2 separate regions of the Homo sapiens genome follow, and region 1 is linked to region 2. Evidence: promoter capture Hi-C in 16 types of primary human blood cells and fetal thymus (Javierre and others, 2016). All regions are on one chromosome and are shown on one strand. The core of a region is centred on a gene start or on the middle of the fragment in contact, and the rest is flanking DNA. Distances in the headings are between cores, read along the strand shown. Region 1 overlaps RFT1 (RFT1 glycolipid translocator homolog). Region 2 holds the start of ITIH4-AS1 (ITIH4 antisense RNA 1).

What was found. Contacts are between HindIII fragments. The CHiCAGO score rates a contact against its expected background, and 5 or more counts as called.
Region 1: a fragment that was not itself captured here is called in contact with the fragment with the promoter of ITIH4-AS1 in region 2 in 1 of 17 cell types (naive CD4 T cells); the score reaches 5.5 in naive CD4 T cells.

Annotation. Positions count from the first base shown.
Region 1 is chr3:53,113,534-53,116,815 of GRCh38, forward strand. The region is part of intron 6 of RFT1 (RFT1 glycolipid translocator homolog); the gene reads right to left. Among named protein-coding and RNA genes, the nearest start is that of RFT1, 15 kb to the right of the region's middle. RefSeq lists an enhancer at 801-2,000. The HindIII fragment of the contact is 552 bases long and covers 1,662-2,213 here.
Region 2 is chr3:52,822,297-52,825,334 of GRCh38, forward strand. It overlaps ITIH4-AS1 (ITIH4 antisense RNA 1), which reads left to right and starts at 1,639. Exons shown (of 3, transcript NR_046615.1): 1 at 1,639-1,697; 2 at 1,816-2,041; 3 at 2,909-3,018. It overlaps ITIH4 (inter-alpha-trypsin inhibitor heavy chain 4), which reads right to left. Exons shown (of 24, transcript NM_002218.5): 7 at 2,546-2,662; 8 at 2,101-2,269; 9 at 1,894-2,019; 10 at 1,527-1,708; 11 at 1,260-1,445. RefSeq lists a silencer at 1,963-2,120. The HindIII fragment of the contact is 13,495 bases long and covers 1-3,038 here.

The DNA of each region.
Region 1 (3,282 bases), core at 688-3,187, 290 kb after region 2:
TGGGCAGAAAGCCCATCCGTGAAGAGCAATGCTATCCAGTAGAAATGTAATGTTAAATTTTCTAGCAGCCACAGTGCACAGGAAAAAGAAACAAGTGAAATTAATTTTAATATATTTTATTTAACCAAAATATTATCATTTCAACAAGTAATCCCTGTAAAAAATATTTTTTTTCATATTAAGACTTTGAAATCCAATATGTATTTTGCATTTATGACTCATCTGAATTCAGACTAGCCATATTCCAGAATGCTCTATAGCCACATGTGGCTGGTGGCTAACATTTGGGACAGGGCAAGCCTAGAGCACCTCTGAAAGCAAGGATCACTTCTAGCCCCCATTCTCTTTACTCCTTGGTTTCTGAGCCTTTTTTCCAGACACAGGGAGTGCAAGTGTGAATCCTCCCAAACAGTGCAGCCCTCAGGGAATCAGAGAACCTAGAGCAGATGCCAGGTTATCTCTTTAGCCCAGGAGTAAATCTTCCCTGATGAGAAGGAAATTGGGCCACAAGATGTTTAAAACAGGCCATCTCCTTTCCCCGGAACAAAGAGCACCAGACAACTTCCTACCACTAGGGGGCACTGGGGACCACGTCATCTTCAGACTTGGATTCTGACCACAGCCGGCTTCAGCACCTTCTCTCTCTCACACTGCTCCTCACCCCTTGCCATGCTGTGGTGGTCCTCCCAGGGGTCAGCAAAGCAGGACCTGTCCCCTTTTAAAAGGAAACGAAGGCTGCTGCTTGTCATGAGGCTCTCGTGATGCCTGTTTGCCTGCAGGTTGTGAATGGATTTGGGAAGATGATTGAGCTCTTTAAAGACAAAGTTCTTTGGGAGAATGAGATCATGATGGTGTACCTAATCTGAGAGCTCATACTTGATTTTCCTAATGCCTTTGGTTTAAATGGGCCTGTGGTTCAGAAGGAATGGTGACACCACTTACTAAAAGTGCTCATTAAGGACACAGAGGCAGGAAATCCAATCTGAGATGCGGCTTCTGCAGGCAGGGGCTGAGTGGTGGGAGAGAGGAAGCATATGGTGGACTGTTACCATTCTATTCAGAATGGAGGTTCAGAATGGAGGTGTCACTTGGGGCGGTCAAAAGAGGCCTATTTCACAATAGCTGGGTTGGTACTGATGAGCTGATCTAAATAGCCAGGAATTTCCCTGGAATACCCTGACCAACAAGCCATTCCACTGCCCTCACTGTACTAACGGAGAAATGGCGGCTAAGGTGGTAAAAGGTGATGGATGGTAACTCCAGGGAAGGTCTGGAATCAGAACTCAGAGGCTCATCACACTTTCACCTGAGTCACTCGTCCACTTCCCAAACTCTTCTGACTCAGGATGATATGATCAGCCACATCCTTACCACAATGACAAGAGTCACTGGTGAGTGTGGGGCTACCATCCTGTCCACTGCCCTCTGTCACCTCCTCCACCCTACAGAGCACTCCTTCCTCTCCCTCTTGCTCCACCTATCCCAGTCACTCTGGGGCTATTGATGCTGCCCCAGCTTTATCCATCCTCCCACTTTCATCCATCCTCCCCCTGTCCTTACTCCTCACCTGGACAATTGCCACAGGCTCCCAATGAGCTTTTTTTGCTTCTTACTCTTTCTCTAGCCTATCCTTCTCATTGCAGGTTCAGGCTTTGGAGTCAAGCTTGGAGATTGGGGCTCGACCTGCAGTTCCTTGAATTATTAGTGTAAATGTCGCCGTGAACAAGATACTTAATTTTGCTAAGCCTTGGCTTTCTCATCTGCAAAATGGGATAAGAAGTCCTGTCTCATGGAGCCAGTATGAGGACTGAATGAAAAAAAATAAGACACTATAACTCTGTAAGAGACGGCAAGCTCCTCAATACAGACAGTTTGATCATGGTGCTGTTCAAAAACCTTTCATTAGGCTCCACTGCCCCTGAATTAAACCCAAGCTCCATAGCACTGAGGCCACTGCCACCTGACCCTAGCCTGGCAGCCAGGTTTACTTCCCTTCATAACTTCCCGCCACCTTTTCCTTTCTCTCCCTTCCCCCATTTTCCAGCCAACCTAAGTACCCCAGTCATCTCTACATTCCCAATTCCAACACAATGATGGGCAGGTAACAAGCACTGAGCAAATTTTCTTTCCTTCTGTGGTCACGAATGCCCATCTCTACCACACATATACATTTAACCTCTGCCCACCCATGTGTCAAAGTCCAGCACAAAAGAAGCTTCCTCCGTGAAGCCTTCCTTGATGTTCCTAGATGGAATTCAGCAGTCCTTCCTCTGTGCTTCTATTTTGATAACGCTAGACACACACTGTCCTATAGCATAGTTGAGTACAGATCCTATCTCTCCATCACCATGCAAGTTCTGAGGGTAGGGGCCTCACTCAGGGCACCTGGTACAGTGCCTAACATATAATAATGTTTAATACATGCTTGCTGAGTCAAATTCCTCAGCTTTACTTAAATATTAGCATATCTCTCATATTAAATCCCTCAGAAATGTCAATGAATATAAACGGAAGCCATTATTTGAAGTATCATTAATTTATTATAAGGTTAAATAAGCATCTTTAAAGAAGATGGAATTCTACAAGAACAGGAAGGGAAATCTTACAATTAAGTCAAATTGATAGTAAATATAATTATTTGACCAGCTTCCATTAAGGAAGTCCCCAGTGCAGAAAGCTGCTCTGGGGAGTCAAGTCAGGCATGCTGCTCATGGTAAAGTCATACACTGCGTTCATGCATTCAGAATCATCTCATTTCTTTTTTTTTTTTTTTTTTTTGAGACAGGGTTTCACTCTGTCGCCCAGGCTAAAGTGCAGTAGCATGAACACAGCTTACTGTAGCCTCAGTCTCCAGGGCTCAAGTGATCCTCCTGCCTCAGCCTCCAGAGTAGCTGGGATCACAGGCATGTGCCACCATGCCCAGCTAAATTTTACATGTTTTGTAAAGACGGGTTCTTACCATGTTTCCCAGGCTGGTCTCAAACTCCTGGGCTCAAGCAATCCTCCCACTTCGGTCTCCCAAAGTGCTGGGATTACAGGCTTGAGCCACCACACCCAGCCTCTTTTTTTCTTTCTCTTTTTTTTTTGAGACAGAGTCTTGCTCTGTTGCCCAGGCTAGAGTGTAGTGGTGCGATCTCAGCTCACTGCAACCTCCACCTCCTGGGTTCAAGCAGTTCTCCTGCCTCAGCCTCCCAAGTAGCTGGGATTACAGGCGCATGCCACCATGCCCAGCTAACTGTTTTGTATTTTTAGTAGAGACGGGGTTTCACCATGTGGGCCAGG
Region 2 (3,038 bases), core at 389-2,888:
CCAACCACTGCACTCCAGCCTGGGAGACAGAGCGAGACTCCATCTCAAAAAATAAAAAAAAAAATCTTAGGTCTGAAGTTCAGGTCATATTTTTCAGAATACACATTAAAATAAGTAAATAACCACTAAAACAAGCCATGTCTGTCTGTGAACTCCCCTGAGTCACCTTGGGTTCTGTACTTTGGGAACCCACGGCCTCCAAGCTAAATCACCTGCTGACATGTATGGAGTGCTTATCACTGGACATCAATCACAGTGACTTTATGAGGGGGGCATGCGACTTATTCCCATGTTTACATAGGAGGAAACTGCAGTAGATGGAGGTTAAGTGACTTCTCCATGTCTCCTATCTGGGAGGTGGCAGAGCTGGGTTTGAAGCCAGGCAGGGTGGCCACGCAGACCGTACCAACAGTCATGACACTTGGGGACTTGTCCTGAAACAAGGCCATGGGCCCCCAACGCCCACTCCTATTCTCTTCACACACGCTGCCCTCATGCCACAGGGGCCTAACATATTCCTCCATTGCCCCATCTGGACTCTTCCCACCTCCTACTTATCCTTTTGTCTCTGCTGGGCCTCCTCCAGGAAGCCCTCCCTGATCCCCAGGCCAGGCTGGGGCTCCTGGTGCTGCTCTCCTGAGTCCAGGGTTAGATCCCAGCCTGTAGCTGGTTTGTGTGGTGATATGTCCTTGGGTTGTCTCTCCCATGAGGGCACGGAGGGGTCAGCCTCATTCACTGCTGCATCCCAGGGCCTGAAGAAGGCCCTGCCGCAGAGCTTGTGCTCAGTTTCTCTTTGTGGAAATGACAGGGGGTCCCTGGAAGGAGGCAGGGAAGGCTGGGCAAGGACAGGGTGCCACGTGGCAAGCTGGGCTCTTGGCCTGGTTGCAGTGGGGCCCGGGGAAAGCTGCCTGCCCTGCCTGGAGCTCAGTCTGCTCATTTGTGAAATAGGAGCAGCCCTCCCTGTCTGACTGCAACCTGAGAGGGTTGTGGTACCAGGACAGGAAGGGATGACAACTAGGGAGGAATCCCTGCCCTCACCTGTGCTTGCAGGTGCACAGACCGGCTGCCGAGAGCCTGTATGTGCTGGTCTCATGAGAATCACTCCATTGTCTCATTGAATCCCTGCCATGCCCCTGTGTCATCCACAGGCAGCAGAGGGGAAAGCTGGAGCTGGGCAGGTCTGGGATTTGAGTCCAGCCCCTCTGGCTGCAGAGGTGGAGGCTGCCATTCCCCTCCAGGGTGGCTTTGGCCACACTCACCAGCTTCCCACTGACTGTGGCTGTGAGCACATCAGGCCCCCGGTCCTGGAGCTTCCCAGCCACCACCATCTCTGAGCCCTTGAAGAGGAGCCGGAAGTTGTTCTGAGTGACCTCCTCCACGGCATTGCTTGGGTACTCGAAGGTCACTGCTGTCAGCAGTGGGTTGGCCACTTCCTGGTAGAAGTCCTGCAGGGTTGGGGGTGTCATAAAGGCTGGGCTTTATGACTGCCCACTTCTCTGTGCAGCCCACCTGGGGCACACTGGCACCTGGAGCTGCAGGGCAGAGTCTGAGTCCTCATGGATGCGCCGGGCCAGGCCGCCATTGTCCAGTGCCAGCTTCTCCAGGAAGGCATAGCTGACGTCGAAACCGAAGCCCAGGCAGAAGAGGCTGTACCGGCCACTTACAGCTTCCCGCACGTTATTCTGGATGCTCCTGGGGTTAGTCTCCCCTGGACCCAGGGGTTTGGGATGAGGGTGAGAAAATAGTGATTTGCTTGAAGAATATTTCTGGAACCTCAGAGCCGAGGGGCCTCAGTGACCCCCTCTCCCTGCCCAGATCCCACAGCAAGCCCAGGTGCAGCCCCAGCCGCCTCCCCTGTGCAGCACGTCCTGGAGTCACGGGCAGGGCCCTCACCCACAGTGGGGTCGCCATCGGTGAGCAGGATGATGAGTGAGACACTCCCTTCGGGCAGCCGCTCCTCCTGGTTGCTGCTGTCCAGCAACTGCACAGCCATCAGCATTGCATCATTGATGTTGGTCCCTGAGGAACACGCACTCTCAAGGTGGTCCCCAGCCAGGAGCCCTGGAAGCCCCCACCCTGCAGGGCCACAGAGACACTTACCTCCCAGGGCCTGGATGCCCGCAGCAAAGCTCCTGGCCTTGTTCACGTTCTCGGCTGAGGCTGGCACCAGTGATGGCCTCCACTGAGTTGCTTCTGTACTGAAGACGATGAGGTTGAACTGGTCTCTGGGGCTGAGGTCATCCAGGATCTTGATTAGGGCTTCCCGGGTCTGGTCAGGGAGAGGAAACATAGGTGCTTCAGAAGGGCTCCCTGAGGGCTCGTGTGCCCTAGGGCTGGCATCCTTGGACTCCTGTCTCAGGGGTGAGGTCATGGTATCTGCTCTAGGAACAGGGGCTGCCCTAGGCTCTGGCCAACCTTGGTTCCTGAGAGCCACCCGCCCCATGGTGCCGAAAGGTGAAGCAAGGGGGTCTGCCTGCCGGACCACAGCTGATAGCGTGAAGGGCCTGGGAGTTTTCAGGGCCCTGCCCTGGGCCACAGGACCTACCTGCTGGATTTTCCTGCCACTCATGGAGCCGCTCTTGTCAATGACAAAGACCACATTCTTGGGCATTGTGGTTAGGCCCTCGGGGGCAAAGTAGTGTACAAAGTAGCCGTTCTCGATCTGTGGCCAGAGTGAGACCCACCCAGGCCATCAGAGCTACAATTGGCCCTATCCCCATTCAGCCCCTTTACCCCAAATTCTGGGTTTCTGTGCTCTGTTCCAATCCCATTTCCATCCCACTGCTAACCTCCCCAAAACCTTGCCCTTTTTCAGGGCTCAGACCAGCCCCTTTCTTGCGGAAGCCTTCCCTGCTCATGCATAGCCCACCAGAACTCTCCCTGCAACTTTTCCTTCTATTTGTTTTAGTATTTCAGATGGTTTATACTAAAAAGTTCAGACATCATAAACCTGACAACCATCAAAAGAGGGAAGACTTCAAAAACATGGAGTAAAAGGGAAGTATAATAACAATGGCAGAAATGGCTGGGTGTGGTGA